Regions from separate parts of the Homo sapiens genome. Here region 1 is linked to region 2. Evidence: promoter capture Hi-C in human tissues and cell types (Jung and others, 2019). All regions are on one chromosome and are shown on one strand. Each heading gives the region's core, a stretch centred on a gene start or on the middle of the fragment in contact. The rest is flanking DNA. Distances are from core to core; before and after follow the strand shown.

Region 1 (5,866 bases), core at 777-3,276, 110 kb before region 2:
TCTGCATCCCTATTACCATTACCCTGGGTGGCTCCTTTCTCATTTCACATTGGTACCATGTTAACATCTCTTCACTGATTTCCCTGTTTCCACTCTAGCTACTGGCCCTGAAATCCATCTTTTATGCTGAAATTAGACTCATCTGTGTGAAAAACACGTCTGTCCCATTTAACACCCTTTAGGGGTGCCCTGTAACCTAAAATAAATTCCAGTCTCCTTGGCATTGCATTTTAGGGCTTCTACCTATATGTTCAAACTTATCTTTTGCTACCCTCTGCCTCATACTTTTGTTTTAGCAACGCTAATCTATTTTGCTTTTGCTTTACTAATCATCAATTCATTGCTTCCTTCTTTTGTTCATCCTGTGCTTTTGCTTGAATACTCTTTCCACCTTTCTCTATCTGGTTAGATTTTACTTATCCCCCAAGAGTCAAATCAGGAATCATCTGTCATATTTGGCCAAGTAGCCCTTTTTGTGCTCCCCAGGACCCTGAAGATACTGGTGTACAAGCATTTACCACAGTTTAGTTGTATATCTGATGCATATGATGAGGTAGACGGGTTTTTTCTTTTATAAAATAAATTATATTTTCTTGGTTGCAAGGGTACCATCTTAGATTTTGAAATGTCAATTGAATAGCAAGTCATTTTCTTGGGATTCAGAAGTGCCAGTATATAAACTTGGTCACTACAAAGAAAGCAGAGCAAACTGCATAAGGATTCCAAAGCAATTCTGGGAAGAAAGGAAGCAAAACCTCAACTCTTAGTACTCCAAATGTAAAGTTAAGCACACCGATTAGGATAGACCAGAGCAGACCCTACCAAGACCCAGCAACAGGGAAGAACAACAATTCCTGAGAAATGAAATTATAGGAGCAAGAGCTGAGGCTCATGGCCACACTAAACGCCTGTGCTAGCTACCGTCCGCTATGTCAGTGACATTGCATGCTTTTGTGGACTCTACTACCCTGAACAGTGAGTGTACATCAATGAACAGTGGCTGAAAATGACAGTAGGACCATAACCTGAGCACTGGACACAGGGCCCCACACACAGATCACACATGTTGTGTAGAAAGCCACTCAACATTGGTAAACACAGTGTTTAATTTTTCACATAGCTCTTTCCTATCCTTCCCTGCTTCAGTTCATTCTAATTTCTCCTAAGATAAGCCAAGAGAAATTTCAGAGAAGATGTCATTAATTTGGTTCCAATCTCTTAATAAATGTCCAAACAGATTTTGCAACCTGATCATTATGAATGCTGGAAACATCAGTAAACCATTTCCAGTATTAAAATATATTTAGCATGCAATCTCCATCAAGCTAGGTTGCACGAGGCATCTTATTGTAAGGCTAATGTAGGGGTTCTGGAGCCAAATAAACCTGAATTTCAGACATGGCTCAACCTCTTACCGTGTGACAGTGGGCAAATTATTTAGCTCCTCTATGGCTTATTTTGCAAAGGCAAAATGGGATTAATAGCAGACCTTACCTCTTCACGTTGCTGTGAAGAATAAATGAGAGAATGCACTAAAGTGCTCAGCAATCAATAAATTTAACTTCTAAAATGGGCAGCTGAAAGAGACAACACTTACAACCTTTTAATACGAGAAGGTCAAACAACCACCCCACAAATTGCATCCTGTTTGTCCTAAGTGAAATAACATCTAGGAAAAATACTGAAAGTAACGGGAACTTGAAATTGACCATATGGGATCTTCTGTGGGTTACAAAAATAGCATAATTTAATCAGAAACCCCTAGCTTCCAAGAAGCCTGAATGAGTATGAAGAGAAAATAGATTTTGTCAATCAAGACCTTGTTGCAGGCCCTCAACATTAGATACAGAACCATGATTAAATTAATCAGAGGTCATACAGATCACAGTAAGAGATAAGCAGTCTATTCAGTTTTTCTTTTTCATATCTACCCTCATATCACTAATGACTGTGGCTTTAAATAATAATCTTTGTTATCTCTTATAAGCCAGATTGAATCAAAGTTTGGGCAATCTTTGAACTAACTCTTAAAAATCAAGTCTGGTGGGTTCCGAAAAATTGGACGGAAAACTATTAAAGCTAAACGTGATTGGACAGCACGAAATATGACAGTGTTTTAAAATCATAAACATTGAAATACTTAGTTCCCTATGCTGGGTCTGTGCATACTCACTAAATGGTATTAGTTTTACTTCAAAGCATTCAAATATGCCTCATTTCACCAAAAAAAAAAAAAAAAAAAAAATACATACAAATTTTCAAAGCAGAAACATGAGATAACTATTTGTATTAGAAAAGATTCTTGATTTACAAGAAATACTCATGGAAGGAGAACTTTCAACAGCAAGTTTCCCTGGAATACAAAGAAACATTATTTGCAGAAATTGAATCTGCATTCTATTCATAATATAAAGGCAAATCTGTTCCATGCATTTAAGGAATTAATAAAAGTAACTAACATCTTACTGTCATAAAATACAAACACAAGCAAAAACCTTGATGATAATGGACTTTAGTCCCTTCGTTTTATTAAAAAAAAAAAAAGTTAAGTTTAAGCAGGTGACATGAAAGCTCATCTCTGATAGACTTCGGAATGGAACCCAGAACCTCTTACTTGAGCCCAAGGCATTTCCTATCAACCCAAATTACATCTCCTGTTTCCCTACATATTATTTAGATACTGTATTTTGAAATGCCTCTAAACATTAGCTGTCAGTTTTTAAGAAGCTAAGAATCAATGCCTCCCATATATTACTATCTTCATATAAAAGCAAATCAATCTGGAATTAAGCAAAGTGTGGCAGAATAAATACACTAAACTGAACAAGAGCCCTGGCCACATGGAACCTATCTGCACACAACCACATCCTTGGGAATCTGAGACTTCACCACAGTGGAGCTAGGAAAAAAATGGGACCATTAATTTATTCAATAATTTCTATGATTAATCTGCGTGCCACAAGTTCTGTGCAAAGAACTGGGGATAACACAAGGGATAAGACAGAAACAGTCTTTACCGTTTAGCAAGACTAATAGCCAAGCTTTATTAAGAGTTTTCATGTTCTAGGCACAGTGCTAAGCAATACTCAAGGATTTTCTCATTTAATACATTCAATATATAGCCCTATAAAATATGTCCTATGTTTATTACCATTTTGTAGATGCGGAATGAAATACAGACAAATTAATGCAGTTAGCAGGACCACATGACACTGATTAAGTTAATCGGTGTAATGTAGATACTAAGTGACAAAAGTAGAATTTGAAAGCAGATCTCGAGGGCTGGACCCTTAGCTGCTGTGCTATACTGACTCCAAGCTACTAGGAGAGACACATATTAAATACATACCTCTACACAATTATATGTATAATCTAATTATAATGGGTTATACAAAGGAGAACTTTGGGCTACCTGAAGAGCATTTATAAGAAGGATCTAGTCACTGTAAGATAGGGCTATTTTCACTACCAAAGAATTATTCACAATGGTATGGTGATATTTACCTTTCAATATAAAATGCCATATTAATAAACTGCATTTGTAGGATGTGCTAAAAACAAAAAGATGTGTTTATAAACTTTAAGCATTAACCACTGAGACCAACCTGACTTTGTCCATTCAAATTCCAGCTCCCAGAGAAAACTTCCTCTTGTACAGTTTTGGGCTTGGAAAATATCCTTCAAACTATCTAGCCCTGTCTTATGTGAACACTTTTTTAGAAATTCACAGAGAAGATGAGGTTCCCCCCCCCCCTTTCCTTTTCATATCCGATTTACTAGATACTCATTGTAAAGTCTGCCAGACTTCCATTGTCTATTTTCTTTGATACAATTTTGAAAGTATCCATCATCAGCCAAACCAGAACACGCAGGTCTGGTTTCATCCTAACTGTTCATGCCCATAACCATAAAAAAGAAGACACAGATTCATCCCTCATCCCTCAGGTCTCGTTGATTTGTGCCAAATGAGGGCAATTACTAGACATATGGACACCTCCTCTACCTAATGAAAAGCTGACTCCCTCATTCAGTCATGTTTTTTATCCAAATATGTTTTAAGTGAACCAGCAAAACCATGCAGAGCCACTTCACAGAGTATGCAGTTTGTGGACTGAAAATAGAGGGATCAGGAGCTGAAATCCAGCCCATGCTCAGCACTCTGAGCCACGTGTCTCAGCATGGATCTACATCCACCTGAAAGAAGGGCATCTCTTCCTTTGCACCAAGTAACCTCAGCTTGCCAAGTCAAGTGCCTAAAGGGCTGTTTTCTCCTACGGCACATTTTTCAACATTCACATCAGGTATCCTATTGTCTACCCAGTGTCATAGGACTATTTGACCTGTGAAATCACATCTCCCTGGGTCTCATTTTCCTCATCTCTAAAATGAAAAGACGGGCAAAATAAATTCTAAACCTCCTTCCATGTTAAAAACTCTAAAGAACAAACAACCTAGGCTTCCCTGGCTCTTTCAGAGTTACGGTGTAATCTGCCAAAGAGGAAAAATAACGACTAGACCTCGAGATCCTAGCGGCTTCCTATGGGACCTCATGCAGGGCCTCTCTGGGAACTCCAGCCCTGGCTTACTTGCTAATTTCCCATGGGTCTTCCTTAGATAGCCTTTCTCCAATGGGAAGAACAAAACTCATTTGCCCTGCACACAACATAGTCAGAATGGCCAATGACAGAGTAACTATAAAAGGGTTTAGCGAATGTAAAAAGTGCTACACGCATGTGTACACTAGATCCTCCCAGCAGCTTTTATTCCCCAGACTGCCCAGAGAAAGTTGTTTTTGGTCCCTGTTTTTCTTATTTGTCAATAGAGCATATGAGAGTGATCATCCACTTTCCAGTTTATTTTTGCCACTTGCAGAATCGAAATGGCAGTCAAGAAAAGGTTGAACCTGAGGTCTGTCTCTGCTAAGTGAGAACTACTGTTGGTTGAACTATTCCCACTGGTGTTGCCCAGTGATTCCGCTCCACCATGTCTTTGAAGGTTGGTAGGGGAAAAGGTGAAGCATCTCATGGCAACAAAGACTATCAACCTCACTCTGTTGGAATAAAGCTAGTCAACCTACCACTGTATTTCACAACAATTCAAATCCAGGTATCTCTCCTACTTAAATCCTTACATCAGGATTTGGAAATTCAGGATTCTGACAAATTGAAGCACAAATTCCATTTATGCAACCTTGAAGAGATACATACATGCAGAAATCCACATTCTTGGGAATAAGTTTAAAGTATCTTGGTTTATCAATTCTGGAGGAAAGACCAGCTTCCTCTGTCTGTCAATTTTGATTTTATTCCCATCATTCTGGGCAAAAAGTGAGGTTAAAACAGTACTGCCTGACATGAGTTCAGATGTTTGGTGTGAGGAATCTCTACAGGGAGGACCCCTGAGGTCAGATTCATAAGCTCCCTGGGGCCTACAGCCTGACTGCTTTGCATCTCCACTTCAGTCCCCTCCAAAGTATGTCAGCAATGGCAGGTGTATGGTGTAAAGCTATCAAGCTGTTTCTTGGGATTCACCACAGTCACACTTCCCTACTTCAAAACCAGAGAATCAGAGGTCGTCTGCAAGAAATGGAGACTAGAAATTAGCCAGACCAGCCCAATACTTTTAATCCCCTCCCCTACCCGATATCCCCGCACAAAAACAACCATAACAACTAAGCAACATGCTTGGCTGTTCAGTATGTTCAAATGTCATGTGAATATTTAACCAGGGAAATATCTCTGGAAAACGGCTATGATTTGCTGGTGACATAATGCTCAGCACATGACTATAATTTAAAATAACCATCCAATATAAACTAAATTCATGAACAATGAGGCTTTTCTCATGCAAAAGCTGGTCTATACAG
Region 2 (6,708 bases), core at 2,838-5,337:
AGATGAGGGGGAAGATAACTCACACTGCACACACGCATGCATACACATATGCACACATGGACAGAGAGCTCAAGCCTAAAATAAATGTTTAGGGAAGCAGCGTGATGCGGTCTAAAGAGACAGTCCTTTGGAGTCATCTGTGTTTTAAATTCTGCCTCCTGCCCAAGCTCTATGCCTCAAGTTCATTTTCAATAAAATGGAAATAGTCATAGTCACATCACAGGACTGTCACAAAGATTAATTAAGACAGAATATACAATAAGGCTTAGCCCAGTGCCTGTTGCATAGAAGACAATAAACATCAGCTACCTTCTCCTTCCCCTCCCTTATGTGTTTCTGAAGTCTTTTTTTTTTTATTGTACTGACTTATATGGGAATTCTTACAGCAGTTTAAAAAAAAAAACAGTTCCTACACAGTATATAGTCATTTACACATATGTATCTGTTGCAGCACCATAATTTGCAAAGAAAAACGAAGTAGTAATTTTAAAAGAAAAGTACCAGCTCACTCGCACTGCCTTTTCAAACCTTCAGCTTTACAGTCGACAGAGACTATTTGCTCTAGGGGTGCAGATTCTGAAATAAAGGAAAAAATTCTCATGGGAAAAATGGTTCTCAAAAAAAGCCAACACAGAATAGATAATGAGGGGAAATCTAGGAGTACAGAAAGCAGTTTATTTTACTTAACAAAGTAAAAGTCAAGCAAAATGAATAATCTGCCTCCAGAAATGGTTATTTAAAGGCTTTTTGTAAAGGGCTCTGGTTCCTAAAAAGACAGGAGTCACTGCATATGCCCACCCACTCCTCATTTATTTTTAAACCCTAGCTTATATGTTCCTTAGCAACAGAAGGAGCAGATGAGACCCCCCTACACACACACACACACACACACACACACACACACACACACCCTCTCTCCCAAAGCCCCCTTCTTTTTGCCTGTCAAGTTTCATTCCAAAAATACACATGTTCTTCAAAAGATATTTTTTGCCTACCTGCAAATCTCCACTCCTCCACCTCAAATGATCCCCCTCACGCAAGCAGCCATGCTCCATACCCTAACTCAGTCCTTTCACTCAGACTCCATTCTGTGAGGTCTTCCTGCCTCCTCTCCATAAGCTCCCACCAGACACTGTCCTCAGGTGCCCCCAGAAGGGAGGTGGTGTGGTCCCCACCAAGGAGCCGACCCTCAGCTCCTGACAAACCTGCTCTTTTTTTACACACCCTTCATCCATCCCACAGTAAAACAGCCAGCCCTGCTGCAGGAGTCCAGCACCAATGGCCGCCATGACGAGTGGGCAGGCCATTCACCATTACTCCAAAACAAATAAGTAACAGTGATCAAAATGGAGACAATTTCCTGTTACCCAGGCACAAACATGCTCCAGATGGAAGCACCTCCTTTTCACCATCTTTCCTCTGACTTTGAGACTGACTGGCCTGGTTTGGATGGGGAGGGTTTATGAGTTCAAAGATCAATTGTTTAGTCTTGGGGGCAAAATAGGGTGGCAATCCCCATATATTAGTCTGCATAAACATCGCCTGAGGAGCGTGTTAAAAATTCTCACCCACAGACAGTTTGATTCTGCAAGTCTAGGGTGGTGAGCACTTTTAACCAGACACCTGAGGTGACACTGATGCAGGAATTGGAGACTGTAAAGCTTTATTTAAAAGGAAATGATGTTCACGAAGTAGAATCCACCTCTATGTAAGGATTGTAAAGCAGACGCAATGTTATTATTCTTCTATAGAAACATGCTGCGTCTGTGTCCATGTCTATGCTTGTGTGTGTACACACTTACACGTGCATGTGTGAGCATGCAACTCAGAAAGCCAAAACCCCACACAACATACATTTTAAAAAAGGAGGCTCAGAGAATGACCCCTGACAAGAGGCAAGCTGAAATGATTTCCCTTGCAAACTCTGGCTTTGTCTTCCTACCCAGTGAGGACTCTGATGAATACCAATAAGCCAGGAGCAGCCTACACTGTGCTTCATGTAATCACCACCCCCTTCCAACTCACAGCTCCTAAATTAGGCTGAATGTAGTCCCTGTTCCCCCAGGGGCCAGACGGGCCATCATAACTAGGAAGTAGAACTGCCAGTGTCCTAGCATACCTCCCTAGAGCTACCCCCTCCCCACCATCTGTCTATTTTTAGAAACCAAAGTATAAAAAGAAAGATCCATTTGGACCTGATCTGTGTGAGTAACTAAGAGAACAACTCAGGTGGGGAACTCCCTCAGCGCACAGCGAACAAAATGCATGGGAGGAACGCAGAAGCAACAACCTCACCAGGAAGGCGTTTTAGGAGTCATCAGAAGTCAACACTTAGACACAGAGCACATGCCCTAGTGACTGTGGCCTCCAGGCCAGGCGATGTCTATGGGGATCCCAATTATTCACACACCTGCCCCCATAAATAAAACACACCCTCCCAAACCCACACACCTCTGTCATCTGCGTTTGCTTACATAACAGCACATGGTGTGACAGGCTTAATACTTTATATGGTTTTTGGGAAGGGAACACTAACTCAGAAAGAGTAGGGTTACAAGAATGTTTTCACTGACCCCTTTTCCAGAAACCCTCTGAGCTCCAGCAAGTGTACATCTTTGTAAACCTATGCTTGCATATCACCTCGACCTTTAACATCGATAAGCAGTAGGGTTAGTGTCAACAACTCTCCAAACCTGTCAATGTCTTTATTCTTGCCTGCGGAAGGGAGGGGTGAGAGAGACCTTAATAAATCCTAATTCCTCGTTGTTGGATTCTAATACAATGTGGGGTTATCTTTTATCCTAATTTAAAGGCCATTGATCCCACACTGTCCTTGTCTTACACATACACTCATCCTTAGGTGCAAATATGGTCCCCACTCTCACCTTCACCCCTAGCTTGCCAGCGGGCTCCCCACACCCTCCTCCAGCCAGGAGAGAGGCAAGGAGCACGCAGGCATGGAGCCCCCATAACCAGTGGCGCATCTACAGACATAAACCCACTCTTCCTTCATGGGGGATTTCGAGGCAGGTCCAACTTCCATAAGGATTTCTCTTCAGTGTAGTGCTATTCTTTTCTGCCTGTCGGAGTGATCTCAGCTGTCAAGTTAGTGCCAAAGGTTCATCCAGCGAAATCTGGAAGGTGGGGGAAGGGTGGTTGAAGATGACACCTGCTTAGGGGCAACTTTGACGACTTCTCTTAAGAAAACTAAGCATCACTGAGTCTGCAACCCTTTCTCTCTCTCTCTTTCTCTCTCTCTCTCTCTCTCTCTCTCTCACACACACACACACACACACACACACACACACACACACACAGACAAAATTTCTGTTGCTCTGACCTTAGGGACCCAGTGCTTCTCTCCTGCCACAGGGGAAAGCAGGCGTTGCTGCCCTCCAGCCTGGAATGATAGGATGGGGAGAAGACAGACATCCCCGGGAGGAGAGGGGGAAAGGGGGAAGGAGAGGCGTGGAAACAGAGAGGTGCCCAACTCCGCGGAAGCGCCCCTTGCTGGGTAGAAGAGTGGGTCTCCCGCCGCGGCGCACCTGTCTCGGCTGCCGGCTCCCCGCACCTACCTGTACGAGACCTGCTTCCGGAAAGTTAAGTTCCTCAGCTTCTCCTCCAGCGCTTCGTCCTTCTCCTTCTGGCCGGCGGCCGCGGGCTCGTCCAGGGCAGCGGCCCCCGCCGCCGCGGCTGACCCTGCGCCCCGCGGGTCCGCGCCGCCCTCGGCGCCCAGGCAGCAGCTCCCGGCGCCGCTTCCGCTGCTGCTGCTGCCGCCCGTCGCCCCTTTCTCCTCTCCCGCCGAGGAGCTGGGGTTCATGGCGCCCGCTCCGGCGGCCGCGGAGGGAGCGCAGGCGGCGCCGCTGCAGGGGCCGGGCGGGCTGGCGGCGGCGGCGGCGGCGGCTGCAGGAGCGCGGGCAGGTCCGCGCGCCGCTGGCAGGGGCAGCAAATGGCAGCCCCTTCCCGCAGCATCCATCCGCGGCTGCACCGCACCGGGGCATTGTGGGAAACTCCGCTCACTCCCCCGCCCCGGCCAATCAGAGGCCGCCGCTCCCCGCCTCCCGCGCCCTCCCGCGCCGGCCCGCACCCTCCAGCCCCGCCGGCCTCTTCCTAAATCCCGAGCGAAAGCCCAAGCTGAACATGAACTCTGCCCGGAGGCGACGGGCTGCGGCGGAGGGGGAGAGAGAGGAGGACAGGCTGCGACCCCGGGCTGGGGACGCCAGGGCAGGGACAGCGAGCATCAGGAAGGAGAGCGTCCGGGGAACTCGAGTGGCCGCGCCCTGGGTCCTGCACCGTGAGGCTGGGGGGACCAGGACCGGCGGGCGCCCACCTTGGTCCTGAGCCCAGCTGCCGACGCTGGGCCAGCACCCTCTCCACCGCCGCCCTCCAGTGAGCAGAGCTGGGCTCAGGCAGCAGCCCCTGGGCGCGGGAAGGTAGCGGGAGCTGCATTTAGGGGAGGGGGGAGGTAGCAGGAGCTCCGCCAGTGGGAACCTTGGAGTGAATTCGTCGGCGGGTGCCAAGTCGAAGCGCCGACCTCCTGTCTCTGGACTGGGGCCCGGACCCCTGCGTCCCCAAACTGCGTCCCCGCCTTGCTCGTCGCCCGGTGCCTTCCTTAGGCGCAGCAGACCCTCGGTAAACAGCGGTTAATTCGATGGAATCGGATCACAGGGCCCTCGGTGAAGCAGAAAGGCGGAGGAAATCCAGGAGGCAGAAGTGAGGACCCTGGCGCCTGGCGCCGCTGCGTTGTTCGTATAAGAAGAGGCATCCCGGAAGGGGCTTCAAACCACTTAGGACCGACTGCTGAAACGAATCCAAGCTTGTGGTGTCTGCAGAATTTAACTGTCCGCCTCAACCCCAGTTTTTGTTTCTAAGATTATCGAAAACTGTGCGGTTTGAGTGATGTGCTACAAAGTGTTTAAAACAGATTGTTTCCCAAATTAGGGGTTTCCACACAAGAAATCGCTGCTGTCGGCAAACACAGGAACTATCTATGGTTAAGACAAGGTGGTGTTCGTAACCAAACTATAAACCTACATATACGAGGTGGTAAGAGAACCAGACCAATGAACAGTTTCAGGCTGGCGTGGTGTGCCCGTGAACAAAGAATTGTAATACTGGCAAAAATCTAAATTGCTTTCTTTCCCTTTATTTTCTCATCACTAAAATTAGGAAAATGAACAGATATGTCAAATCTCTTCTAACACCCATGTTCTGTAACTCTCCTCGTATGTACCTTATAATAAGACAAAGGTAAAGACATTTCCATGTGCAGCGAGGAAAAGTAATAATAAAAATTAAAACAACTAGCAAGTATGAAGCCCTCTTTTTATACGGTATGTGCTGTATAAGCACTTCCCTCATCCACCTCTATGTTTTCACAGCACCTCTCAAGGGCTTGGACACGTGCAAATGCAAACTGGCAAAGCCAGGAGTCAAGCCAGGCTGCTCAGTGGCCTTTGTGCTTCACCCCAGTTTAATGCACCCGTCTTCAGAAGGGACATCGTGTATTAGGTGCTTCAACACAAGATCCACGAATATCTCGTACATCCCTAAAATCAAGCAAATGTCATCTGAACCCAATTACTGGGACAGCCCCCTCATTACTCCCACTTACTTTTAGCCGTATCTTCCCCAATCCAATCTCAAGTGTGAGCCCCAAAATACTTCTGATTTTTCACGCCTCCACTTAAAAATCTTTTGATTATGTCATATTGCCGTTAGGGTAAAGTTCAAACAACTCAGCTGATTTTGAGGGCTACATTGGTGGGTGGTGGAGTACTGCCCGCTTTCCCTTCATACTGTCATGACAGTGAGGTTCTGAACTGTTCTTTGTGCAAACCCCACACGCTCTCTGCTCTCTCCATTCCCATTTTTGCACGTGTGAGTCTGCTGTCTCCTCTTCTTTGCTTCTCCTTTTCCTAAGATTTGCCAAGCCAACTACTCTACACCTCCATCGGATTTTAGTTTACATGTCTCTCCCCATGTTTCTCCCCACTAGAAGCCTCCGTTGATGATCCCTTTCTAGACTGTGATGGACGTACCTCCCATAGCTCCCATTGCACCATTGTACTAAACTTGGACCACTGCAACTGTCATGTGTCTATTTATCCCACATGTATATAAACGCTATATGTTGTTTATCACTATATCTTCAGTAATAATAAACAGGTAACATAATTGCATAAGTGTGTATATCATAGACCATCATGAAGTGTTTATTGACTGAGAAAAGAAATATACATCGTTGTGAACATAATGAAAGACGTCATTTTTCAGAACAAACAGTTTGATAATAGATGGTATTGATGAGGGGGTATGAAAACAAATGCTTCCTCAAATTTTTGATATACTTTAACTAGTAAAATCTCTCTGATGGTAAATTTTACAATATCTATCCATGTTTGAAATGCATGACCTAATTAACTAAGCAATTTCACTTCTAAAAATTCGTCCTCTGATATACTTGTAGGTATACACAAGGATTTAAGATTGAAAACAACCTAAATTGTTATTCATCCAAACAATGGAATTCTCTGGAACTGTCAAGATACATAAGGCAAGTTAACATTCATTAATATAAAACAATCTCAAATATATAATGTTAACAAAAAAAGAAAAACAATGCTCAGAGTATTTAGTAGTATGCTATCATTTATGGAGAAAAGAAGATCTATAGAGATATAATATTTCTGGAAGGATACATAAGAA

What was found. Contacts are between HindIII fragments. The study calls those that stand out against the background at their distance.
Region 1: a contact is called between a fragment that was not itself captured here and the fragment with the promoter of DGKI in region 2, in 4 of the 25 tissues and cell types used here (IMR-90 fibroblasts, aorta, neural progenitor cells and 1 more).

Annotation. Positions count from the first base shown.
Region 1 is chr7:137,734,982-137,740,847 of GRCh38, forward strand. All of the region lies in intron 1 of DGKI (diacylglycerol kinase iota), which reads right to left. Among named protein-coding and RNA genes, the nearest start is that of DGKI, 110 kb to the right of the region's middle. The HindIII fragment of the contact is 4,900 bases long and covers 1-4,476 here.
Region 2 is chr7:137,842,887-137,849,594 of GRCh38, forward strand. DGKI (diacylglycerol kinase iota) reads right to left here and starts at 4,088. Exons shown (of 33, transcript NM_001321708.2): 1 at 3,576-4,088. The coding sequence starts at 3,976. RefSeq lists an enhancer at 2,927-3,428 and silencers at 4,063-4,112, 4,597-4,891. The HindIII fragment of the contact is 10,065 bases long and covers 1-6,708 here.